Linked DNA regions of Homo sapiens: regions 1, 2, 4, 5, 6 and 7 are each linked to region 3. Evidence: promoter capture Hi-C in 16 types of primary human blood cells and fetal thymus (Javierre and others, 2016). All regions are on one chromosome and are shown on one strand. Each heading gives the region's core, a stretch centred on a gene start or on the middle of the fragment in contact. The rest is flanking DNA. Distances are from core to core; before and after follow the strand shown.

Region 1 (3,578 bases), core at 1,066-3,565, 1.1 Mb before region 3:
TTAAATGGCCATGTATTTAGACAGCTCTGAACTGCAGTAACTTTAGGCTCTATTTGAAACAGTGTTTGATTCAGTAACTGTTGCTGAAATAAATTGAAACTCATACAACAGTAAAAGCTGTGTTACTCAGCAAGTTATCACTGTGAAAGCTCTAGAAATTGTTTGAGTTTCCAATGCAAATCCTTTTCAAAAAGCCGCTGTTTTAATAGCACATGAAGCATAAAATAGGTTCATAGCAGAGCGCAGCACAGAGCAACATGGAGCAACTGTTATGACCTGGAGTGTCTCCAGTCCAGCATGCAGGTGATAGGTCTCAGCATTTTTGCACGCAGGTTAATGATGGTGCAGACGGTCACTTCCTTCTCTCAACAGTCTTCCTGGTCACGAGCACCATTGTGGCTCGTGTGTGGGGCTCTTTTGGCTTAGCTCTCTGCACGAGTTTGCTCCTTTAGTTCCCAGAGCTGACCCTTGAAATGAGTGATATTACTCCTGTTTTGTAGACAGAAAACTGAAGCCTTGACAGTCTGACGTGACCTGGCAAGAGGTGCTGCAGTTGGAAATGTGAATTCACGGCTGACATCTGGGCACTTTACTCCTAACAGTGTTCAGTGAACAAGACGTCGCTAACATGCGGGGGATGGAACCTAGCAACTCATTCTACAAACATGGTTCAAATATGTTGGTGCAGGGCCTTTTGCTTTGTTTTCCTAAAGAGATTAGATTCAGATGTGGTGGGGTGCTTTGACAGCCACCGCAGGACAAAGTTGATAGCTGTGGGGTTGCGGAGTGTTGAGGATTTCATAGGGAAGCCAGTCCTGCGCAGTAGTACGCTCAGGTTCGTGCTTTCTTGAGGTGTTCCAGAACTGGCCTGGAGGGAGGCTGCAGTGTGGAAGCGGGATTTCTGTCACCTGGAGTATTCTTAGAAGTTGCATTCTATGAAGAGTGGAGCATCTGATGAGCTGTTTACTCGCTGTTTCATCTGACGGCAGTTGAAAGACAAGGCAGGACTGGCAGCGCAGCTGCCTCAGTCAGCACTGCTGCACTGGGGGCTTGACCTGCAGTCTCGCAATCCTGGACTATAACTCATTTTGAAGAGAGAAAAATTAAGCATTAAGTGATTCAAGCGTCTTGCCCAAGGCGCTACTAGAAAATAAAGGCACTGGTGCCCAGATGCAGGTCTGCATGGTATGCAAGCCTGGGCTTCTTCCCACCTCCCCCACAGAGAGGGCACTGGTATGTTGGAGTGAAGAGCCACGCAAGACCTCTGTGAATGGGCAGAGATGGGCCAGTGACGCAACACAGTAAAGTGTATTTTGGTTATAGGCATCGTCTCTAAACTTATGTAAAACATTATTAAAAAATGGAAGGACAACGATGAAATGATGGCCAAAAATATAGAAAAGGATACCTTGCATGTCCTGTGAAATGCAAAGGAATTCTAAAGTGTCATTATGAGTTACCTCATGGAAGAAAGCAAAAGGTGAATCTATCTAGAGTTTGTGGTTCTGACTCACAAGAGACTGATGTTCATGCTGAAGGACGAGTGTGACAGGTGGAAGGATAGAGCACCGAGACCACACTCTAAAGGGTAGGAATCTATGGGAACTATTCAGGGAGATGAAAGCATGGAATGAACTGAAGCTTGCAGACTCGTTGAGTAAAAAGCGCGTTTTAGGATTGGTTTTAGAATAAAATAACAAGGCCTGTGGTTGGGGAAGATGACTTGCTGTTCACAGAGCCTCCCTTAATAGGTGGGGACCTCAGCTTTTCCTCTGCTGCCATCAGGTGAGTGGTGTACAGTCCTAGCCACAGTAGTAATCACCACTGGCCTGACTGAGCCCTCACCCTTTATACAGTGTCTCCTGCCACCCTCCTGGGAGAGGCTGTTCTCGGCACAGCTGGCCTGGGGTCACACAGCTGGTAGGTGTAAAGCAGGCATTGGAGTCCAGGTAGTCTCACTCCGTAGCCTGTCTCTTTAGCCACTGGAAATGTAGAGCAAAGCGAGAATTGTCCAAAGAGATAAGCTAATAAAGAGGAAAACAGGCTGGGTGCAATGGCTCACGCCTGTAATCCCAGCACTTTGGGAGGCCAAGGAGGGCGGATCACAAGTTCAGGAGATCGAGACCATCCTGGCTAACACAGTAAAACCCCATCTCTACTAAAAATACAAAAAATTATCCGGGCGTGATGGCACGCACCTGTAGTCCCAGCTACTTGGGAGGCTGAGGCAGGAGAATCTCTTGAATCCAGGAGGCGGAGGTTGCAGTGAGCCGAGATCACACTACTGCACTCCAGCCTGCGTGACAGAGCGAGACTCCGTCTCAAAAAAAGAAAAAAAAAAGAAAACAATTATGCTGAGTTCCAGAGAAGTGATGTCTGTCTTCTCAGGAGAGATGCCGATGCTGTCTGAGGGCCTGCCCAGTCTCCACATGATTCAGAGACTCCAGAGATGGACAGCTAGTGCCCTGATTTTCCCAAGAGGATTCTGAGGGTGACTTCTGTCAACCAAACAGGAGGACCTGGTGCTGTCATCACCAGTTGTAGAGAGGCTGCGGACCACCTGCTGTGTGTGCCATCTTACACTGCCATTTGCTGATTGCTTCAAAGCTAGAGGTTGTTTCTAAGAGTGCTTCGTGCTAACTAACTAAAACATAATGACATTGTTTTTGTAAAACTGATCCGTGGTTTGTTTTTTAAAGCAGAAAGCTCTAAAGTCACTCAGTCCCACCACCCAGAAGCACAAGCAGGTGGCTGCCACTGTAGGACCTCTCTCTCTAGGCTCGTGTAGATGGACACATGGATTGGTCAGTAGAAATACTTTTATTAAAAGTCTTATCTTTACATAAATTTGCCAAATTATTAATTTTGCTTGAAAGGGAAAGGTGTCCAACTTCAGTTGGAAATACTAGTTTCTAAGAGATACTGCTGAGACTAAGAGCATAAAACATGATGAAAACCTTAAGTGGCTAAGTGCAGCAACGTCAGAGTAAAAGCTTTGATGAAGTCTTGGTTTGCTTGGGCTGTGTAGGTTGGAGGCTCAGCCTTTGTTTCTCCCTCCTCTGGTGCCCAGTGGTGGTGTTTGTGTCCGTGAATTTTCAACCTCTGTAGTTTGTTTGTAGTTATGACCACTGTTGCACCGAACCCTTACCGAGGGCCAGGCCCTGTGCTAAGCACTTGCCAGTGTGGATTTATTAAGTCTTCATGACAGCACCATGTAGGGGGAGCTGCGTCCCTGTGTTGTACTTGGGACGCGATCTGACCTCAGGCACTTCAGGCTCCTGAAGGGTCTGCAGTCTCGTCTCTGCCTGGGAAACCACGATTTGCAGCATATTCCACAGACCTCATGCTCATCATCAGGAGGCTTCCCGGGACTGCTGCCTGAGATTTCTAAGTTCCTAATGTGGTTCATGCTTCTGGTGAGTTTCTTTGAGGCGACGCCCCCTGCGTTGCCTCTGGTCAGCTCAGTCCTGTGGTCCTGCAGGGCATCCTACAGTGTCCTCTGTCTGTGACTTGTGCCGTGCCACCTTGACCTGGCATCCACTGTCCTCTACCGCGTTTGCAGATAGGAGCCACTGTTG
Region 2 (3,814 bases), core at 388-2,887, 1.2 Mb before region 3:
AGGGTGTCCTTTCACCGGTTTATGTTTTTGTGTGCTTTGTCAAAGATCAATTGATTGTAAGTATCTGGCTTTATTTATGGTTCTTTATTCTGTTCCATGGGTCTATGTATCTACTTTTATACCAATAACATGCTGTTTTGGTTACTACAGCCCTTGTTGTATAATTTGAACTCAGGTAATATGACGCCTCCAAATTTGCTCTTTTCATTTAGCATTGTTTTGGATATTCAGGCTCTTTTTTAGTTTCATGTGAATTTTAGGATTGTTTTTCTAATTCTATGAAAAATGATGTTGGTATATTAATAGGAATTGCATGGAATCTGTAGATTGCTTTGGGCGGTATGGCCATTTTCACAATATTGATTTTTCTAATCTATAAGCATGCGATGTACTTCTATTTATTTGTACCATCTATTATTTCTTTTAGCAGTATTTTGTAGTTCTCCTTGTAGACATATTTCACCTTTGTGGTTAAGTATATTCCTAGCTTTTTTGTGGTTATTGTAAAAGGAATTGAGTTCTTAATTTCATTCTCAGCTTGGTCATTGTTGTTGTATAGCATTGCTATGGATTTCCCTACACTGATTTTATAACCTGAGAGTTTACTGAGTTTATTTATGAGATCTAGGAGTCTTTAGGGTTTTCTAGGTATATAATTATATCACCAACAAACAGATAGTTTTGATTTCCTCTTTTCCAATCGGAATGTCTTTTTGTTTCTTTCTTTTGCCTGATTGCTCTGGCTAGGACTTCCTGTATTAATTCTTCTATGTATTTAGCACAAGTTGATAAATTCCATTTATAGAATCTAAAAATGTAATATAATACATTTAAATTTATAGAACTCCGTTGGGGTTTTGTTCTTGAACTTACCAAAATTGTCCTGATTTATCTAGAACAATACATTTGCTTGAATATACAAGATTTTTTCAGTAAAATAACATTTAATTTTGGAGGAGAAGTATCCTCTTACTAGATAGTAAACATCAATTTACAGTCTAATAAGCAAAACAATATTTTTTTCGTCAACAAATAAATAGACCAATCACTGGAACTCAATAGAAACTTTAGAAATGTACTCAAGTTTCTGTAAGAATTTATGATATCATAATCTCAATAACTGGAGAAATAGTATATTGGAATGCATTATCATTTAGAAAAAAATAAATTTCCTATCTTATGTCTTACACAAAATAAATTCAAAATGCATTAAAGTTTTGTTTTGCTTTTTTTCCTCTAGAGACAAGGTCTCGCTCTATTGCCCAGGCTGGAGTACAGCAGTGTGATCATAGTTCACTGCAGTCTCAAACTCCTCAAGCAATCTCCCACTTCAGCCTCTGGAACAGCTGGAACTACAAGTGCATGCCACCACATCTGGCTAATTTTTTAATTTTTATTTTGTAAAGACGCAGTCTCGCTATGTTGCCCAGGCTGGTCTTGAACTCCTGGACTCAAGTGATCCTCCTGCCTCAGCCTCCCAAAGTGCTGAGATTACAGGCATGAGCCACTGCACCTAGCCTGAATTAACGCTTTAAATGTGAAATGTAAAGGCAGATGGTGAATATATGTATTTGATTGGGTAAGGAAATTCTAAGCATGACTCACAGTCAGAAAAAGTACTCTATGAATATTTTTCCCCTTCACAGTGGTTGGTCATTATTCCTAAAATATTATACTAACCCACTGAACCACTGCTTTATGTCTCATGATCCACTAGTTGGAAATTTTTTTGTCTTCACATCTTTCTTGCATAAAAAACTTACATATTTAGAAGATTTATCCAGTAATGGGCTTTACATTTACCATAAATATCATTTTTTTCTCCCATGAAATTATAGGTCACATTTTAGACATCAGGAGACTTTCAGTCCTAAGAAGTTACAATTTGAAATTAAACTTATCTAGTTTTTAAAAACTTCTAAGCTAGCAGGATATAAATAATGTGCTAGTGTTGGCAATAACTGTTCATAGCTGTTTCAAAAATTTGAATTCTGGAAATGAATTCCCTCAGCAGCATGTTTTGTTTGCTTCAGGCATTTTGCAAATACAATACTTTCAGAACACAGCTTTCTATCTCCCCCATGAAGTAATTTGAGAACCACCTTTATGGTTTGTCATTTTATTGTTTAGACTTGAAATGGATTCATCTGTCTTACTAGTTAAGCCTTTAACTAATAATATAATTACAGCATTTATGCATGTATTTCTTATGACACTCCAATCTTCACAAACTCCTCCTTAGGAATTAGTGTAAAAGAAAGAGGTGAAATTTCTCCCATCTCCCTCCAATAGCTGTGTGCCTTCTGGCAAACACATGCTATGATCTGTGTCTCTAAAATATGCTGAGTGCTTTGTCCTGAAAAGAGTCCGCTTCTCTGGAAAAAAAAGTTAGCCAAGATCCCTCTCTAACTTTATGATGAAAAGTATCATTCCAGTTGAGAAGCACAAGTCCCATTCAAAAGGAATGGAAGTGAATTTTACAAAGATTATGTGATTGACCTGAAGAGGAAGACAAAGCAAATTGAATATATCTTCTTGTACCATACGTGACAATTTCTTTGAAGGTTTTAGGGCCATGAATATGACTTTCCTAATAAAGCAACCCTTTTCAATTTTTTTTTTTTCCTTTTGAGATAAGGTCTCACTCTGTCACCCAGGCTGGAGTGCAGTGGTGCAAACGCAGCTCACTGCAGCCTTCATCTCCCAGGCTCAGGCCATCCTCCCCAGTAGCTGGGATTACAGGTGCACACTACCGTGCCTGGCTAATTTTTAAAAATGTTTTGTAGAGACAGGGTTTTGCTATATTGCCCAGGCTGTCTCAACTTCCTGGCCTCAAGTGATCCTCCCGCTTCGGCCTCTCAAAGTGCTGGAATGAGCCACCACACCTAGCCAATCATCTTTTAATTTTTACTTAGTAACTGCTTACATTTTCAAGCAAATGTGAAAACCTAAGTCTTTTGTGCTCTACGTTGATCTCTTCCTGAATGTGGTTTGGCTCAGAGCTCAGCATGCTTGGCATTGACTCGGTTACTCCTTAAATATTTACCAGTCGTCAATACTTTTCTTGTCCTCCGCCTTACTCTTTTGCTGTTTGAAGCACTTGGAAGTGAATAATGTCTCTCTCAGTTTAGTTTGAGACTTTTGTGGAGCATTTCTGCCCTGTGATGCTGGGGATGCCTGTTGCAATGCCTGTTGCATTGCCCCTCCTGGGAAGCACAAAGGAGTGGAGAGGCAGGGGGGTGAATTCACACCACGCCAGCATGTGTTCACTGGGGGCTTCCTGTCTGCAGGCCACGGAGCTGGGTCCAGTGAAGGGCTCAGATTCCGGGGGGGTGGCAACGCTTCTGCTGGGACAAAGCCTCTAGTCCACCGGGGATGCTGAGCAAAAGGGTGAAAATTAAAAAGTGGAAGAGCTAACGTAATTCAAGGCAATAAGAAAAGCCCTATTATTCATTTTCACAATCACCACAGTAATTTTCACAATTGTTACAAATTTCTCTCTCCTACGTTCATTACTTTAAGGTTGATGCGGCCAGGAAAGCTTTACAGAGGTCTTGGTTGGATCTGGGTCTGGAAGGCTGGCACTGCGCCGGGAGAGGCAAAGGTGATGTTAGGGGAGTGTCCAGGAAACACTGCACCCTGAGGCACAGGTCAGAGACAAGGTAGCCCGAGGCTTGCACAGGGGCTATGGGCAAACCAGCTCTGGTAGCTTCCAGGCTTCAGCAAGTGGGTGAGTGGCTAAAAATCAGGCTGGTATGAAGATGAGGGTCTAGGATTAGGGAGGGTCAGCGGCTTTGTTTTTATTCAGTCAACA
Region 3 (3,811 bases), core at 1,312-3,811:
GATTTCCTAGCATGCTTTAACTGTGTTTATGCCAGCATCTGTTAACTTCAGGTCTCATCTTCGGATCACTATGGAAGAAAAACTAAAGGCAACATATTGCCTTTATATGTGACTTGAAACCACTGCCAGTTCAAAGGTTACTTTTTTCCAACTGTCAGAATTTATAACCAACTCACCTTGCAGCCGTTGAAGGAAAAGAGGCTTGAATATTTTTGCCAGAAAGTTGACTGGATGGCATTCATTAAGTGAACATGAATGAAGAAGTTTCAATAATGATTTGGGTGGAAAATAATTGAAATGAGTGAATAGCACGTTTTCCAGCTTTCTAAATAAAGCAGAGGCATTTGGTGGCAAATAATTGAGTTTCCCAAATGGTTCCATTAAGGCAGAAATCTGACGAGGTGAAAATTTTTCTGTTTGGCAAACAAAAGTTTCTGCCACTGCATTGAGGATGGGTTTTGAAAGAATCAGTTCTCTACTGCAGTACTCCATGACCCTGCAGACAACTTCAGGATCCAACGTGAGGCACACCGCAGCTACACGATGCTCTAGGGCTTTTGTAAAAAATGTGTCATGGTGCCCAAAATATATGAACGCCTCCAAGACTCTCCTAAGCTCCTCGTTAGTGAAATGTGGGACATGCCTCACGACATATTTGCCCAATTTTATAATCAGAGGAAATGCTTGACTTTGATCAAGAACCACCAGGGCAGTGAGCATTTGGCTAATCAATTTAGGACTCAGGTTGGAAACTATTGATAGGGAAAAGTTGTTTATCTTATTTAAAAATGTTTGGTGTTCATCCACTTTTTCAGTACATGCCTGCAAGATTCTATAAAGGGCCACAATATCCTCCGGGGTAAATGTTTCCAATTTTTCACCTTGAAGTTGATTTATAATGAGTTCTAGTGTCACACAACCTGAACTGTGCAGTGTAATCAGACTTTCCCCAAGAATACAAAGATTGCGAACTTCCATGCCACCTTTTCTGAGACGATTTTGGCATTCTGCCACCAGGTTCAGCAACAGGCTACTTTGAGGATCCACATGCAACAGAATCAGAGCTTGCAAAGCAGTCACTAAACTAGTGTTTGACAGCTGTGAGGGCTCCTTTTCAAACTGAAAGCATAAAGCTTGAAAGATGCTATTCTCCAGTATTTCTTTTGGCAGCCCTTGATCACCATCCTTTTTTTCCACTTCACAAATTCGTTGTAAAGCTCCTGCTGCCATAGTGTCAGGCAGGGTTTCCATCGTGCTTATAAAACTTAGCACTTCTTCTGATGAAGTCAAGTTGCTCAGTCTCCTGTAAAACATCTGACTCTCCTCATTTTTAACATTTTGTTCAAGCCTGTCGCAGTCAGATACTTGAGAGAACACTGGTCCACCGAGTGGATGAAGGTCATTTCCATTTTTCGAATGAAACTTTTTACAATGGGCATGATGGAATTTGACCCCGAAAGGCTCAGGTTGTCGTGAACACAACCAAGGGCACAGACGCTCCTTGACTACCTTGTGAACATGATTTAGAGGTTTATTTTTTAAAGCAGCCAGAGCTCTATGCATCTGAAAATCAGATAAACGATAAAGGTTCTTCCTCAAGGTGATTAATGCCATACCATCAGATTCTCAATTTGATAACTAAATTAAAAAATTTAAAAACACATGGTTAAATACATTGAGAACATGATTGACCCAACATCAATGTTTATGAAACTACAAACGAGTATCTGGAAAAAAAAAAAAAAAAAAAAAAAGGATGGTTAACATATAAACACCAGAGGGGCAAAGTCTCTGCATCCTAGAGTTAGAAGAGTGGCTGACATTGAACAATAACAATCGCTATTACTTGCTAAACACTGTTGTAGGTATTCTATTAACTTACACAGATTCAGTACTTTTACTATCATTTTACACGAGGAAGAAGTTGAAGCACAAAGTTACTTTGCCCAGTTTATGCAGGTGGTTAAGTGGCAGAGCTAGGGTTCAAACTCAGGCAATGTAGCTCTTAAGGGTGGCCCTTAAATGTTGGTTGAAGGAAGAAATTGCATTTGGATAGAAATCAAAGAACAGGTAAAGTGGGCAAAATTAGGCGAGGTTAGAGCAAGGCAAGGGTAAAAACGCGCTGGAAAGGCCCTAAGCTGTTGGTTTCCCCTCGGTGTCGGGAGAAGGTTAGTGTTGAAGGAAAGGGTCTACTTTGTCAATGGAAACAAGGTAGGAAAAGAAAAAGCAAAACATAGATCAATGAAGGGAGAAGGTGGGGCGGCCAGTCCAGATCTAAAGACGGTGCGGGGGGATTTGGCAACACGTGTGTGCAAGACAGACAGACGGGAGGCCCCGCGGCGCGTTTTCCTAGGAATGAAAGGGACCCGCGGGGCGAGCACCCCCAAACTCGGCGCCCCGGGGACCTGCGCTGAGACACGGGCCGGGCGGCGCAGCCTGAGGAGAAAGCCGGCCAGGTCTTTGACACCCAGCCGGACCAACTGCGCGGAGACCCCGCGTTGACACCTACCGCGCTCTGCCGGGCAATCACTCCGGGTGGTCGCGGAAGCGCCTGGGCGTCGTGGGCCTCCGTAGCAAACGCGGGGCGGGAGCACGACTCAGGGCGGCGCAATGTGATTGGCCCAGGTCCCCTTCGGAGCTTTCTATTGGTCCTGGGTACCGAGCATGGGCGCTGCGTCAGTGCGCGCTGGCGCAAGGTTGGTGGAAGTCGCGTTGTGCAGGTTCGTGCCCGGCTGGCGCGGCGTGGGTAAGCTGCCTGTCGGCTACGGTTCCCGGATTCCGGCCGCTCGCCCTGCACTAATCTCCTGGGAGAGGCGGCCCGGGGCGGGGGTGGGCAGCCGGCTTGCGCCCGTGGTTCCCACGCCCTTCGGCCTCCGGGGGTCGCCGCGGGCGCGGGCTGGGGCTCGGACTTGGCCTTTGGCCTTTGGCTTTGGTGTCCCCGGGAGCGTGTCCTTGGGCTCGGCGTCGGCCTCTGCCGCGGGAGGCCCCTGGGCGGCGTGGGGTCTCTCCTCATGTTCTGCCTTTGGTTCTAGGCGCTTTCCAGGCCTAGGGAAACCGCACTCGGGGACGCGGGGAACTGGGGAACATGCCGGGTTGGGGCGGCGCGCTCCGGGGAACCCGGGACGTTCCGAGCGCCCACCCGGCGGGACGCGGCCGTGAGTTCTGCCCGCGGCCGTGAGCTCTGCCCACCGCCTCCGCGCCGCTTCCGGGGCTGCTGGGGCCCGGGCCTCCGCTGAGAGTCGTGGGAAGGTGGTGCCGGATTGTGGGGCAGTAGCAGGGATGAGGGGTTGATTGATCCTGGGAAGCCCTCAGGATGTGTGTTTCATGGGAAGTGATAGAAATTTTAGCTGTAGTAAGGTTTTCATTATCGTTTCCACCGTTTTCTGTGAGCTGTCAATGTGTAGTGTTTTCATATTGTTTATTCACTCATTCAGATAACTTATCGAGTACCAGTTTCATGCCAGGTGCCGTTCTGGGCGGTTCATTCACCGAAAGCCAAGCTTTTGGTTTGGGTTTCAGTTTAAATCTGTCTCTGCAAATTGACAGCCCACCAATTTTAGCCGTTAGATGAGTATGGAAAAAAATCTGTGAGTGTCGTTTGTTTTACTACTGCTTATCTCTTGCGGAAAAACGTGTTAGTAAAATGTTTAAGTGGATTGGAAATATTTTTTCGTTATATGCACCCGTTTGTATATATGCCCATACACTCACATATTTTTGATTTGCATTAAATAATGAAGGAGAGTATGTGCTTCAGTTACCTTTAGTACTATGATTAGTTTGTTTAGCGTTAGGATCAAATAAGAACCAA
Region 4 (3,718 bases), core at 979-3,478, 1.2 Mb before region 3:
ATTAATTTATAATCATAGAAATAAACTAACACTTGGATAGTACTTTGTTGCTGAGAGATCCCTTTCACATTTCTCAGCCATGTTTTTTGTTGGTGAATTAGAATTTTATTCCAAGGTTTCATCATACCTGAGGATCGTTACAGTGAGACACCTGTCCCTCCTCTACAAAAGGAGGGTTGGCTGAGAAGGCGTTTCAAGATCCTTTTCTAGCTCCAGAGTCTGTGCCTCCATGAAATGCTAGACTAAATTCTTTGGTACTAAACTGTTGTACACTACCCCCAAATATCTTCTTGGTTTACCTGCTTTTTGACTACTTTATTTTCTTCTGCCCTACCTGTCAAGAGGAAGAACAGGCTTTTGAGTTCCTGTGCAGATCACACGATTTATGCCTCCCCATGTTCTCTGAGGCAGAAAGGATGTCCCTAAGATGTGAAAGGTCAGAAGAGTTACACAGCTGGCCCAAGACATCTAGACGCAGTGAATGGCAGAGCGGTGATTTCCACCACCTCACCAAGCTGAGCTTCCGCAAGTGGTAACAAGGAATAAGAGGAAGGGGAATTTCTTTCTTTTTTTCTTTTTAACTAAAGATACAGATTTTAAATGTTTGCCAGAGAGTCTCATGGGACTCACCTCTATGGTGAACAACAACAGAAGAACCCTCCTGTTTAAAGTAGCTCCGCAGATGGTTCGCATCACGTAGAGGTGACTGTGAAGCTGGTCAGAGATTCCAAACACCAATCAATTGTAGACAGACCTCTTGACTTCTCTACAATTAAACAGAAGGATTTGAAAAGGAAAAAATATGCCAAGTGGAAGACAATCTAGGTTACCTTTTGTGTGTTATATTTATTGCCTAGAGTTTATTGTTTTTGTGAGGAAACAGACGTGAAATTACATAAATAAGTAATTATGCCTACTGTAGTTACCATGAAGTAATAAGCAAATAATAATAATATATTTTTTTTTTTGAGATGGAGTTTCTCTATCGCCCAGGCTGGAGTGCAGAGGTGCAATCTCGGCTCACTGCAACCTCTGCCTCCTGAGTTCAAGAGATTCTCCTGCCTCAGCCTCCCGAGTAGCTGGGACTATAGGTGCATGCCACTATGCCCAACTAATTTTTTTTATTTTTTTTAGTAAAGACAGGGTTTCATCATGTTGGCCAGACTGGTCTTGGACTCCTGACCTCAGGTGATTCACCCGCCTCAGCCTCCCAAAGTGGTGGGATTACAGGTGTGAGCCACCATGCCCAGCAAATTTCTAACAAAAGGTTTTTCAAAACAGCAAAAGTGGTTAATCTAAAATATTTTATAGAAAGATTTTAAGTTTTTTTTTTGTTTGTTTGTTTGTTTTTTCTTGAGGCAGCCTGTCATCCAGGCTGGAGTGCAGTGGCGTGATCTTGGCTCATGGCAACGTGTGCCTCCCAGGCTCAAGCAATTCTTGTGCCTCAACCTCAGAGTAGCTGGGATTACAGGCTTGCGCCATCTTACCTGGTTAATTTTTGTATTTTCAGTAGAGATGGGGTTTCACCATGTTGGCCAGGCTGGTCTTGAACCCCTGGCCTGAAGTGATCCACCCACCTTGGCCTCCCAAAGTGCTGGGATTATAGGTGTGAGCCACTATGCCCAGCCAGATTTTAAGATCTTATAAATGGAATTAAATATTTAGCTTAGATGAACACAAGTACTAGTTTTCTTCCAATCTAAGCAATAAAGGGAGCTTGTCTCCTGGAAGAAACATAAAGTAACCATGTTATTTAGACAACATGATTCCTTTCTAGAATCTCATATTGGAAGCCAAATTACCTAGGGGTGAAATACTAAAATCCCAAAAAGGTAGCAAATCAACTATAAATGTATGGATCCAATAAATGACTTACAAAACGTATTATAAAACTTGGTATGAACTGCTTTGCTTAGGAAAAAAAAATAAAAGCTGATTACAGTGGCAAAATCAGAAGGAAGAAATCTTGAAACCCTTGCTATAGACCAGAAGGTTTTCCATGTCCTTTTTCTAACTGTGAAAAAGTATTCAATGTCACTGGTGATGACTCAGATAATAATGATGCCCCACGTGTACATTGATTTAATATTGAACTGAATGCCAGCACTAAGCAGCATCTGTCTTTCCCATTTTAAAAAAGTATATCAGAACCATCAAGTTAACCTCTTTTTATCAATATTTCTTTTATAAAACACTGTTTTGGCCTTTTGCCTTTTCTTGATGGAATTAATTGATGTGATACTAACAACTCTCCTTTAAGTGATGAAAAATCCCTGCGGATTCGTAAGAATAGGAGAGAAAACTGGGGATACCGTGGGATTCTGGGGAGAACCATGCAGGCGGCCACGGGAGACTCTTGTCAAGAACCGAGGAGGAAGGACTGACCGAGCAATGCTGATTGATGAGCCTGCAGGAATTCTGCTGTGGGGGAAACATAGATGCGCATTAATTTGTTTAAATGAGGTTGTAAATAAGAGAAGACCAGAGATCTACTCCTAGGAACTGCCACCCTTCAAGGGGTGACGTACAGCCAGTGGTGACAGAGCAGCACAGGAGCATCACCCCTCCTGGTTCATGTGGTGGAGATGGCAGCATTGCCTCATGCAGATTTTGTGAGAAATAAGTGGGATGCGTCTGTCTGGTGGGCTGACTCCCTGATGCTCCCTGGAAAGGAGCCGTGTGCCCAAGTCAGATTTCTGTCCATACTTGTCATCCTGAAGATGTAGATTGTGATGAACAGGTCAAAGTATTTTGAGTACATTAGATGATGTATTTGTATTATTAGGAAAACAAAGCCCTGCTTGGCATACCTGACAACAGTCCTTAATGGTTTTTACTACCAGTTATGGCTAATATGTTACACTAACAATGGTAATCTGAAGGGTTGCAATAATACTGTTCAGTCAGGCTGGGGCTCGTAGTGAAATTTTACGGTTTATTAGCCATAATCATCTTGCAATTTTTTTCCTTTAGGTTTTGGCTTGTGGTTAACGGGCATGTTGATAAACATCCATTCAGATCATATCCTAAGGAATCTCAGAAAACCAGGAGATACTGGATACAAAATACCAAGGGGTACGTACAGAAAGTGAAGAATTTCTGTGAAAGTTGCTTGCCATGGTTCCTGGCTATTTTAGTGTTGCCAGCTCTAAGAAGTAGTAGCGTAGTAGTTATTAGCTACAAGTTTTCAGTGTAAGTCATCATTATTAATAACAAGTGCTATTGTTATTGTCTTATTAGAATAACAAAAGACCCAAATCTAGCTAACTGAACAGTTATTAAACAAAGCAGAAACTCCAGTTATATCTGTGCTTGGGAAGAGAGGATGAGGAAGAATTTATGATTGACGAGGAGTGTCTGACACTTTTGTTTCTAGCAGTATAATGGAATAGATACTTTGACCCTCCTCTGAAAACAGTTTAAAACATTGGAATATTTTGAAAATCTTCTTAAACGCATCAGTATACTATCAAGAAAGGAACTAATCATCAGAGGACAAGATCTAGGTGAATGTTGGAATCTGGAGCGTGTCTTTTGAGAATTTGTGATGAGGCGCCGACCACCATGCTGGTTTATAACCCAGATTCGCACTACTTGTATAGTATGAAAAATCTCAAGCCATAAATTAATTTCCGTGGCCTGGGGTAGTGGTGGACTCTCCTGGCCAGCAAAAGCCCAGATCCCCAAGGGGATGTGCATTCAACCTGAGTCTCAAAGA
Region 5 (3,797 bases), core at 1,223-3,722, 1.1 Mb before region 3:
ATGTGTTTTATGTTTTTGTTTCATAGTCGTGATCACCAACTGAGAACATGTTTAGTGACAGTCTGAACTTTTGGGACTTGTGAGCCCATTAAACTGTTCTTGGAATGAAAATATATGATTGTGTCTACTTGTGTTAGGATGAATAGGAAAGGAGAGTCATCTGAAACCGGACACTGACATTCAGGTGCTGCCCATTATGGAGAGTGTGGCTCAATGATTAAACCATGGTTTTTATGATTACCATTTGCTATGTTATGTTAAAGAGGAACAACTTAGCTGTTCCTTTCGTGGTTCCAAAAAATATACATATATGAAAAGCCTTTTATCTTTGGGGGAAGTTTGAAGATGAGACTGTTTCTGGTGTGTACTTGCTAAGGTTTATGTCAGTTCAAGATTATAAGCCCCCCAGGGACTATGAGGTACTTGCCTGTTGTATGACAGTTCTTAGCTCACCTGTGCGACCGGCTAGCATTTCATTTTTAAATTTGTGTGTCAACTTGTGTGTGATTCACATCCTTATAGTGTTTAGCAGAATGTAAGTTAAGGCAGGAGCTTCCTCCTGCCTGTGTGGTGATAGGGGAGGGGGCATTCACATGTTTCTCATTGTCAGGTGCTTTTGATTGAGGCTGGGGGCAAGTTTTAAAACATGATATATGCACTGAAAAGTGCACATGTACCAGGTGCACCTCTTGGTGAGAGTTAACGAAGTGCACATGCTCATGTCACTGTCATGTGGACCAGAGCGAGCAGGCAGCACCAGAGGTTCCCTCCAGGCCCAGGTTCCAGAAGGGGCTGTTGGCTCTTCTCATTAGCACGAGACAAGCCCTGGCCGGCCACTTTCTCAAATGCTTACGGGCCTTATTGCACTTAGCTCTCCCAGCCACTCTCATCAGCAGATGCTGTTGCTGTTCACATTTTACAGGTGAGGAAACTGAGATGCGGAGAGGTGAGGTCATTAGCCCAAGGTGGGTCAGCGGCATAGTCCAGGCCGCTGTTGTCTGCTGCTCCTCTGTGTGTGCCAAGGGGCAGCGGGGAGGTGGGTGGGAATCCTGACCAGGCGACCACCTTTGGAGTAGAGGAACTAAGGCGCGGCTGTCCTGAGGCCACACAGTAGGTTGAGCAGTTACAGTAACTGCTTAGTCCCAGTGACCTCGTTACTGTCGCATATTGGCTACTAAGTATCTTTTCCTCTGTTACCTGAGGGCCAGTGTAGACTGTAGGGAGAGCCTGGAGCCTGCCACTGCTCATTTCTGGGGAGCACTGTGCAGCCGGCCAGTCATGGGCACAAGAGACCCAGGGCGAGGGCTGAGTTTAAGGTGAAATCTTGTCTATTTGGAACAACAACCCAAAACTGTGTTACAGTGTTAACTCCTCACCTCCAGGATTTGGGGTTCCTGCCGTGAGTGAGTGTGTGCAAGAGTAGGGCAGGAGAGTGCCAGGAGTGATTGTGGGAAGGAGTCTATGAGATGGAAAGGAAGCTGCTTCCTAAACTGTGGGTGTCAGGGAGGCATAGCCATTGAGTGTTGGCTTCTTCCAAAGCAGTTTCTGATGAGTTCTTTGGGAAAGTATTTCTTTCTCTGCCTTCTTAAGAACATACTGGCCTCAGGGCTTACCCTGCCTGGTGGTCGCAGTGGTGTCCAGGTGACTCTGGCCCCACTGGCATGTCCTCACACGCTGAGTCCTTGGTTGGTTGCCCTCAAGTGTAGACATTAAAGCCCAGAATAGGTGTGTACTGAATGCACTGTCCCTACGTTGCCTATCACTGGCATTTGAACTTTTCGTTAGACACTGATTGTTTTGGTTAAAGGAATTCCTTTTTTTAATCCTTCAAGGCTGAAGGAAACAAAACATTGCCTTTTCTTCTGGAAGAATTCAGTTTTACTGGTGGGGTGGAGGGTGGGGCATGAGTGTGGTCTGGACAGTTGCTCAGGCAGATTTTGAATGCCATTCGGTGACAGTTCTTGTTGGTGAGAATATTTCTAAAATAGCCTTTTATTTGCTGAATTTTTTAGGGGAAAAATTTTTTTAGTAAAGTTGTCTTAAAGAGTGAAAACCCAAAGTAGAGAAACAATATCAGTATAACATACAATTTAAAAAATGGCTTCGAAGTTACATTAAATGATTTCAAAAATTCTGCCAAATAAAAGTCTGGGGCCAAGCACCTCTCTCCATCCCAGCACATAGGGTGGGCGTGGCAGAGACTAACTCCTGTTCCCTGTTGGCTCCCTCCCCTCACGTCTCTTTGATGCTTGGTCACCTCTGGTGCTGATCCAGGGCTACAGGGGCTGGGCAGAATGTGGGTCCTGCTGTGAGGGGCTGGGGCCTGGGAGTCGTCCTGGGTTCAGGGACTACTGATGCTGACAGTGTTCTCTGACCCCCTTTCATTACTAAGAAAAAACACCAAACCTCTGTACAGCTTTGGCAGCATTTTGATGCCTGGCTGTGGAGAGTCCTGCATGTTAAAGCAGTTTTTAAAATGAAATCTTTACAGGTACCAATAATAAAGCTCACAGATCAGGAGACTGAAGTGAAAGTTGACATCAGCTTTAACATGGAGACGGGCGTCCGGGCAGCGGAGTTCATCAAGAATTACATGAAGGTACTGTGCTTGGTGACCCAGCGCGGCGAGAGTGCAGGACTGGAGTGCTTGTGCTTGGTGGCATCCTACGATGTTTACAGCTGTCAGCTGCACACACAAGTCTTTCGTAACACAGACTACACTTACATTATTTCTCCTACAATATTATTTCTAGAGATACTTTGAAATTACATAGCTGTTTTTAAAATTTGCTTTTCCTGAGTAACCATTTTATAAAGTTGACAATTATTTTAGAGAGCTTTGTTAAAATGTTCTTTCTAGTTATTACAGACTTTGCTTCTAGCTCAGTGTGCCTCATTCGCAGGTTTTACCCAGGTGGAAGTTGATAAATCATGAGGTGCCTTAAATATACTCACTTTGGGAGGTCTCAGTGCCTGAGGATGGGCAGAGAGACTTGGTTGAGCTGACATGTTTGGGACTCTGACCATGTGCCTGGTCTTAAACGGGTGGTCATGACCTCCTGTTACAGTAGAGGCCGTGCAGTCCTTAGCAGGGGCAGACGCACCTCCGGGTGGTCGTGACCTCCTGTTGCAGTAGAGGCTGTTGCAATCCTTAGCAGGGGCAAATCCACCCCTGCAATCTGGTCCCATCTTGTTCCATTTTCAAGGGCCTTGCTCTTCAGGTTCCCCCTTCCCCCTTGTCATCTGGTCTGAGGGAGCATGTCCACCCCAAGCGCAACACGAACAGCAGCAGCCAGGCTTTCCCTCCCTCCTGCCATCTCCTGCCGCTCTGCCTTCCTTGCCAGCCTCACTCTGCTCTCCTGCTCCGGAGGCCCCCACTGTCCTCATGGCCTGTGTAGCAAGCACATAAACACTCCAGTGAACGCGCTGGTCTCTTCCTGAGTTCCTTTGTGCCTGTGGACTCGTCATGGTAGGGGTGCACCCCTGCTGAGTCGTAACCCAGGGAGAGCTCCACAGTCTCGATTTTCACAAGCCCCTCAGGAAATTAATTCTTAGCGTCCCCCAACCAAAGTTTGAGACTTAATGACTGAGAGCCTTCAGATGGGCAAGAGGATCGAGGAAACTTTCCTTTCTGTCTTGTGTGATTTGCTATGTGAAATCTCTTTGAAAGTATGGTAATTACTCAGTAAATCTTTTTCTTTTGGAATTTACAGAAATATTCATTGCTGCCTTACTTGATTTTAGTATTGAAACAGTTCCTTCTGCAGAGGGACCTGAATGAAGTTTTTACAGGTGGA
Region 6 (3,394 bases), core at 5-2,504, 1.2 Mb before region 3:
GACTTGACACTCAGGCTCAGAGATTGGGCTGGTGCTTCTCCCATCCTTTATGTGTTCAGTCCAGAATCATCCTTGGAGCTGAGCCATGGCTAAATCCAGAGATGGAGAGGTAAGTACTTACAGTGAGGTAAGTAGGAAAAAAGAGGCTGTCTCTGCCCACAAAAAGATTGAGATGGTCAACACTCAGAATTCTGAACACCTGGAACCTGGTTCTATGAAGCTGTCATGCGCTGGGGAGCCTGAGGGAGACAGATGCACAAGCTTGAGTACAGGACACTTTATGAGCAGCTGGAGTTTTGATCCCAAACCTGTGTGCATAGGGCCCAGCATCGTGTCGCTTTCTTTCCCTCAGCTCATCCCTGCTTCATTCATTCAGAAATTATTCACAAGCCCCCTCTGTGTCTGGGTCTGTGCTAGGTTCTGAGAATCTCAGAGTGAGCTGAGCAGACATACCTCTGTGTTGACGGATCTTGGAGTCCAAGGGGGAAGACAGTACTGTTACTGAACTACTAGGTATACAACTAAAGACCCTGCAATGCTGCCACGTATTTATTCTGTCAGTCTTTCTCCAAGCACTCTCCAAAGGACCAGTGTCCATTCAGTAGGACAAATGTGCAGTGGAGAAAAGGAAATTCTCAGAATTTGGAGAATTGCTAGATGATGGCTCTGAATTGATGCTAATTTGTGGGAATAATGATAACAGTGAGCTTCACTAGTGAAAGGGAAGGCTTATGTTGTTTAAATGATAAATGGAGTTTTTGCCTAAGCTCCACAGTGGGTCCAGTTGGCCATGGGTCCACTTTGCTGTTATTTTCCAGTGCCTGCCAAGATTAGGTGGAATACATGCCATCAGAAATGGAAAGACTACACACGTTGCTTCTCTGATGCTTGGAATAAGAGCTAGTATGGGAGGAAACAGCAGGTAGAATTCCTGGAACTTTTCCTTCCTTCTAGGACAATAAACCCAAAGTAATACCATATTCCTGAGTAGACTGCAGAGATTGGCATGACCCTCAAAGATATAAGAATGGTGGCACTGGCAGTATTTCTGCAGTAAACTTTGACCAGGTTACTCTCTTTGAGTAACTTGAAAGACTATTACGTCCCCATTTAGCTTACCTATTCAGCTTTTTCAGAAGGTATGGGCTGTGGATTACCATAAATTTAATTAGGCAGTGAATCCAAAAGCAGCTGCTCTTCCACGTTTATTGGAAAATATTATCACAGCTCCTGGTATTTGATAGGCAGCTATTGATCTGACAAATGCTTTCAATTTCTTTTCCAATTTGCAAGTACTGTATGCAAAGGGGTTTGCGCTTACCCAGCAGGGCCAACAATACACCTTCACAGTCCCGCCTCAGAGTCGTGTTCACCTTTTTTCACTCTGCCATAACCTAGGCTGTGGGGAACTTGATTACTCTGACATCCTGGAAAATGTTATACCAACCCTCTATATGGCTGGAATTATGCAGGTTGAATTCGATGATCAGGAAGGAACTTTCGATACTATATTAGCTCAGGCTGCAATAACAAAATCACACACTGGGTAGCTGACACAACTGAAATGTATTTTCTCACAGTTCTGGAGGCTGGGGGTCCAAGATCAAGGTTCCAGCAGGGTTGGTTTCTGGTGAGGTCTCTCTTCCTGGCCTGTGTATGGCACCTTCTCACTGCATCCTCACCATAGCCTTTCCTCTGTGTGCTCAGAGAAAGAGTGGGGTCTGGTGTCTTCTCCTCTTCCTGAAGGACACCAGTCCTATTAGATGAGGGCCCCACCTTCATGGCCTTGTTTAACCCTGAGGGCCTCCTTAATGCTTCCATCTGTAAATACAGTTACACTGGGTGCAGGGCTTCAATATAGGAACTTGGGCACACAGTTCCATCCATAACAGAGTTGGTGTGTGTGGTGGTGTGTGACTATATCTGTGGTGTATGTGTTTGTGTGTCACTATATGTGTGTGTATATGTGTGGTTTGTGTATGTATGTGTGTACATGTGCTGTGTATCTGTGTACCTGTGCAGTGTGTGCATCTGTATGTGTGGTGTGTATGTGGTATGTGTGTGTGGTGTGTGTGTGTGTGTGTGTATGTGTGTGTATGTGGTATGTATGTCTGTGTGGTGTATCTGTGTGGGGTGTGTGTGTATCTGTGCGTGGTGTGTGTGTATGTGCAGTGTGTATCGTGTGTGTGTGTGGGGGGTGTGTGTGTGTGTAGTCAACAAAAGCTGGCTACTACCACAGTGGGGAAATAAGCTTGTTTAACTTTCAACATGAAAAGTCCAAAATCAAGTAGCAAGTGGGTGGGAGCTACTGAAAGCCTAGAAGCCAAATTCAAGGGGTTGCTCAAATCCCTCACAGGAGCAGGGCAGCCTCAGAGGAGCAGGGGCCAAGCAGTGGAGCTACAGGGGTGCAGCTAGAGGAGTAGGGCAAGAAGGGTCAGGTTAGGGGTGGGGGTACAGGGATGGGGCTAGAGGAGTGGTGCTAGATGAGTGGGCTAGAGGATGGGGCCAGAGTGGCTGGAGCTAGAGGGGTGGGTTTGGGGTGGGGTTAGACAAGTGAGGCTAGAAGTGTGGGGTTAGAGCAGTGGGACTACAGAGGTGGAGCTAGAGCGGTGGGGCCAGAGGGGCGGGGCTAGAGGGGCGGGGCTAGAGAGGTGGAGATAGAAGGGCGGGACTAGAGGAATTGGGCTAGAGGGTCGGGGCTAGAGGGGTGACGCTAGGGCTCAGACTCCAGGACAGACAGAAGTGACGGGGATCGACAGGCTCTGGGAAGTCTCGTGCCTCGTCTGCCTCCCATGGCTGGCTCTGCTGCGCTGCTGGTGATTTGTGAAAGTGAAGATTTTACTTTGAAGTGCAAAAGCTGTTCCATTTGTTGGTCATAAAGACATTTTTAGGCAAGTAAGTAAATAATTAATGAAATGTTTTGTTTTAATTTTTTAAGAGAATGATTCTATGCCTTACATTTGTATAAAGCAGTGAAAAACAACACCCTATCCCCCCCTTAAGAACCAATTCAAATAAAATACAAATGTTTATGCAGTTCACATTTTTATTCATAATGAAAATGCTTTATTAAGTCACATGGGAATAAAACGTAGATTCTTACAGATTAGATGACTTATTCAATGAATACAAGAGCATCATTGTCAAAATAAGCCGTGCAATGTTCCTTGTCTAGGGCAAATGAAAAGTTACTGCAGAAAAGCAGGTTTCCAATTTTTTGCCCTGTTGTGTTGCACAGCGTGTCATACACTATCCAGTGTGTGCTGTGTTCAGAAGTCGACACCCAGCACTGTCTTGAATGTTATGAGTCTATATTTCAACAAATAAAACTTACTAGAAATTAAGACAAATAAATTTTATACTCTAGTCAAAACTTAGTAATTTATTCTGTAAT
Region 7 (3,455 bases), core at 431-2,930, 1.5 Mb before region 3:
CACGAGGTCAGGAGATCGAGACCATCCCGGCTAAAAAACGGTGAAACCCCGTCTCTACTAAAAAAATACAAAAAATTAGCCGGGCGTAGTGGCGGGCGCCTGTAGTCCCAGCTACTTGGGAGGCTGAGGCAGGAGAATGGCGTGAACCCGGGAGGCGGAGCTTGCAGTGAGCCGAGATCCCGCCACTGCACTCCAGCCTGGGCGACAGAGCGAGACTCCGTCTCAAAAAAAAAAAAAAAAAAAAAAAGAAACTAGAGCCATTGTACTTTCCCACCAAGGAGCTCATGACCACACTGAGCCCTCAGTGACCCCAAATGGCATTTCTTATGTCCCCCTGGCTGTCTAAAGTGGAGCTCAGGTATGGCCAGGAAGGGACGCAGCCCCAGTACTTCTTTGGTATATGACTTTGGCCCATTTCTAGAATTGTCTTGGTCTTCAGTGAGATGGAGCAGGGACTCCTCCTAGGGGCCTGCAGGTCACCCCCTGCCCAGTGAAGAAATAAAGAAAACTCTTAAGTTCCTTCAGGAAAAATTCCAGGCACCTAGCTCACACTGAAAAATAACTGAATAAACAAAAAGATAATAGTAGCTTAAAACAGTAGCCAAAAAAGTTAGTCAAGAGATATGTTATTCCCTATAAAAACTGAAAATAACACCTTAACATATGTCCCTGAGTTATTTTTCAAAAACCTGAACCCCCACCAAACAGATTTGCTAACACATAGACCTCAAATTAAGGGAAACTAAAAACTAAACTCTGGTCACTGTTCTTTGTTCTAAATTTCTTCCTAAGGGGCCTGGGAACGTCACACCCACAAGTTAGAGCTATCAGTTTGGTGCAAAAGTAATTGCAGGTTTTTTTTTTTTTTTTTTTTGCTGTTACTTTCAGTGGCAAAACGTGCAATTTTGCACCAACCTAATAACATTGTTTTCTGCTGATCCCACATTTTTAGACAAAGCTTTGCCTCCTTAGCCAATCACAGATCAGAAATCTTTAAATCCACCTATAACCTGTGGGCCCCCAACTTCCAGTTGTCCTACGTTTTTAGGTCAAACCAACGTATAGTCTCCATATTTGAATTTATGACTTTACTTGTAACCTCTGCCTCCACGTTGGTAAAAACCCTCACCTATGAGCCATCTGGGAGTTGGGTCTTGAACATGGGATGCCTGATTTTCCTTGCTTGGGGCCCTACATAAACGCCTCACTTTCTCTTGCTACTATCCCAACATCAGTCTTTGACTTCGCTGCACCCAGTGAACAGATCCCTGCTGGATTCACTTACATCAGATTTCTCCTCCTGGAAATAGAAGAAATGTGCCTATTGATGTGTGGAGCATCTCGCATGGCACCTGGAATGTAGAAGGCATTTGGTAAACGTGGCTTCCTTCTATCAGTTTCTACCCAAAATGTGCAAAGCCAAGCTTTCCTTTTTGTGCTGTATACTGGCTCCTTCTTCCAAAAATGTATTTGATGATGTCATTCCTCAACCTAAAACCTCCTGACATCACCCCGCTGTCTACACCAGGGATGTTAAAATCCTCTCTCTGCATAGCCCCATCCCCATGACCATGTACTCACTCTATTACCCCAATTCTCTGGGTGAGGCAGGAGGAGAGGAGTGGGTGCATGTGCCCCTGGCAGAGGGAAAGGATTCTCGGAGGGGTGAGACAAGTAGTGTGAAAAGAGTCGACCTCCAGGAAGCTGCTCTGCAGCCCTCATTTCTCCTTTGAGAATCGCTGGTCCTCAGAACAAGTTCTAAATCCTTACCACCTGATCTGATACCACCTTCCCACTGACCAGTGCCCTACAGCCTCATGGGACCCTCACCAATCCCGCCTCTTTGCCTTTGCTGGTTTCTTTTCTCTGCTTTAAAGTCTTCTTCCATACCTTCTGCTTTACTTGGGGAAATCTGAAATAAATGTCAGCATGTTGGTGAAGCTTTTGCTTACTGCCTCAGGCAGAATTAATAGCTTCCTGGTCAGCTCTGACACATCTGGGCCCTGTTCCCTCCTCAGAGGTAGAGAATCTGCTAGAGGCTGAGAACCGTCTCCACCTTTAGACAGAATGCGTTTAGTGGTTACTGCCTGCATCCCAATGAAACCTGCTCTGCCCTTCTGCCATAGAAATGGAATTGAAGCCAGACCCATTGCTACCCACTGTCTGTGTTTCCCGTTGGTATGGTTTGGCTGTGTCTTCCCACCATTCTCATCTTGGATTGTAGTTCCCATAATCCCCACGTGTCATGAGAGGGACTCGGTGGGAGGTAATTGAATCATGGGGGCAGTTTTCCCCATGCTATTCTCATGATGGTAAGTTCTCATGAGATCTGATGGTTTTATAAGGGGCTTCCCCCATCACTCGATTCTCATTCTTCTCTCTCCTGCTGTCTTGTGAAGAAGGATGTATTTGTGTCCCCTTCTGCCATGATTATAAGTTTCCCAAGGCCTCCCCAGACCTGTGGAACTGCGAGTCAATTAAACCTCTTTCCCTTATAAATTGCCCAGTCTCAGGTATGTCCTTATAGCAGTGTGAGAACAGACTAACACACCCAGGCTTCCCTGAAGTGAGCTGTGGCCTTTGCACTAAGGGATGGGAGCAGGAATGATGGGTATCTGCTCGGGGTGGGAACATGAGGCATCAGGTGCATCTTCTTCAGGCTGTCCCTGATGTGCTGGTGATTGGTCCCACCAGGCAGGTGACAGTACCCCAGAGCAGTGGAACACTCTGAGATAATAGAAGTGTTTTGAGATCTGTGCTGTCCAACACGCGAGCCACTAGACACTTGAGCTATGGCTAGTGCAACTAGGAACTGAAATTTCAATTGTCTTTAAATGTATTTAAATTAATTAAAATTAAAATAGTCACATGTCACCAGCGGCAACTGTATCAGCCAGTAGAGCCCCTGAGGATGGAGGAGCAATGGTTTGGAAGGAACATGGATCTTAGAATGCCCAGTGGAGCAGAGATTCTCCACCTAAATGGATTACTTATCTCAGAACAGTTGAGTGAGAGAAAAACAAGGCAATGTTTTAGGACAGTTAGGAAGATAGTATCAATAGTATGACATAATGGGTATATCAGGGACTTGGGGCTCACCTTTTGAGTTCAAATCCTAGCCCTACCACTTAATAACTGTATGGCCTTGGGCAAATGACTTCATTTCCGTGTGCCCCAGAATTCTCCTCACTGCACTGGGGACACTGAGTCCACGTATCACCTGGGTTTGTTGTGAGAATCAAATGAAGTAATAAATGTAAAACACTTAGAATATGGCATCCCCATTTGTTAGCTACTGTGATGACATTTGAGGTCTCTGTTACAGCATCTTAGCTTTGCACGAATGCACCTGGCTTTGCATCACGGCTCCCACATCTACCACTCGGGTGCCATTTGTTTTCTCAGGTTCTTGGGGGTGATGCGAGTGAAGTACTGAGTGCTGTGTCTGGCCCCCA

What was found. Contacts are between HindIII fragments. The CHiCAGO score rates a contact against its expected background, and 5 or more counts as called.
Region 1: a fragment that was not itself captured here is called in contact with the fragment with the promoter of FASTKD3 in region 3 in 11 of 17 cell types (total CD4 T cells, total CD8 T cells, non-activated CD4 T cells and 8 more); the score reaches 12.9 in total CD4 T cells.
Region 2: a fragment that was not itself captured here is called in contact with the fragment with the promoter of FASTKD3 in region 3 in 2 of 17 cell types (total CD8 T cells and M0 macrophages); the score reaches 6.9 in total CD8 T cells.
Region 4: a contact is called between a fragment that was not itself captured here and the fragment with the promoter of FASTKD3 in region 3, in 1 of 17 cell types (monocytes). The highest score is 8.8, in monocytes.
Region 5: a fragment that was not itself captured here is called in contact with the fragment with the promoter of FASTKD3 in region 3 in 14 of 17 cell types (total CD4 T cells, M2 macrophages, non-activated CD4 T cells and 11 more); the score reaches 25.3 in total CD4 T cells.
Region 6: a contact is called between a fragment that was not itself captured here and the fragment with the promoter of FASTKD3 in region 3, in 1 of 17 cell types (naive CD8 T cells). The highest score is 7.5, in naive CD8 T cells.
Region 7: a contact is called between a fragment that was not itself captured here and the fragment with the promoter of FASTKD3 in region 3, in 5 of 17 cell types (activated CD4 T cells, naive CD8 T cells, naive CD4 T cells and 2 more). The highest score is 10.4, in activated CD4 T cells.

Annotation. Positions count from the first base shown.
Region 1 is chr5:6,722,998-6,726,575 of GRCh38, forward strand. The region is part of intron 1 of TENT4A (terminal nucleotidyltransferase 4A); the gene reads left to right. Among named protein-coding and RNA genes, the nearest start is that of TENT4A, 11 kb to the left of the region's middle. RefSeq lists an enhancer at 3,115-3,578. The HindIII fragment of the contact is 1,352 bases long and covers 1,640-2,991 here.
Region 2 is chr5:6,697,267-6,701,080 of GRCh38, forward strand. The region is part of intron 2 of LINC02102 (long intergenic non-protein coding RNA 2102); the gene reads right to left. Among named protein-coding and RNA genes, the nearest start is that of LINC02102, 8.5 kb to the right of the region's middle. The HindIII fragment of the contact is 3,804 bases long and covers 1-3,539 here.
Region 3 is chr5:7,866,470-7,870,280 of GRCh38, forward strand. FASTKD3 (FAST kinase domains 3) reads right to left here and starts at 2,562. Exons shown (of 7, transcript NM_024091.4): 1 at 2,510-2,562; 2 at 177-1,727. The coding sequence starts at 1,614. MTRR (5-methyltetrahydrofolate-homocysteine methyltransferase reductase) reads left to right here and starts at 2,679. Exons shown (of 15, transcript NM_002454.3): 1 at 2,679-2,746. RefSeq lists silencers at 2,572-3,011, 3,022-3,071, 3,132-3,181. The HindIII fragment of the contact is 2,367 bases long and covers 1,132-3,498 here.
Region 4 is chr5:6,653,105-6,656,822 of GRCh38, forward strand. It overlaps SRD5A1 (steroid 5 alpha-reductase 1), which reads left to right. Exons shown (of 5, transcript NM_001047.4): 3 at 2,974-3,075. Among named protein-coding and RNA genes, the nearest start is that of SRD5A1, 22 kb to the left of the region's middle. The HindIII fragment of the contact is 6,478 bases long and covers 1-3,718 here.
Region 5 is chr5:6,739,999-6,743,795 of GRCh38, forward strand. It overlaps TENT4A (terminal nucleotidyltransferase 4A), which reads left to right. Exons shown (of 13, transcript NM_006999.6): 5 at 2,492-2,599; 6 at 3,714-3,797. Among named protein-coding and RNA genes, the nearest start is that of TENT4A, 28 kb to the left of the region's middle. The HindIII fragment of the contact is 6,472 bases long and covers 1-3,797 here.
Region 6 is chr5:6,679,784-6,683,177 of GRCh38, forward strand. It overlaps LOC124900934 (a long non-coding RNA gene), which reads right to left. Exons shown (of 2, transcript XR_007058680.1): 2 at 3,033-3,394. Among named protein-coding and RNA genes, the nearest start is that of LINC02102, 26 kb to the right of the region's middle. The HindIII fragment of the contact is 1,990 bases long and covers 260-2,249 here.
Region 7 is chr5:6,388,659-6,392,113 of GRCh38, forward strand. No RefSeq gene overlaps it. Among named protein-coding and RNA genes, the nearest start is that of MED10, 12 kb to the left of the region's middle. The HindIII fragment of the contact is 517 bases long and covers 1,423-1,939 here.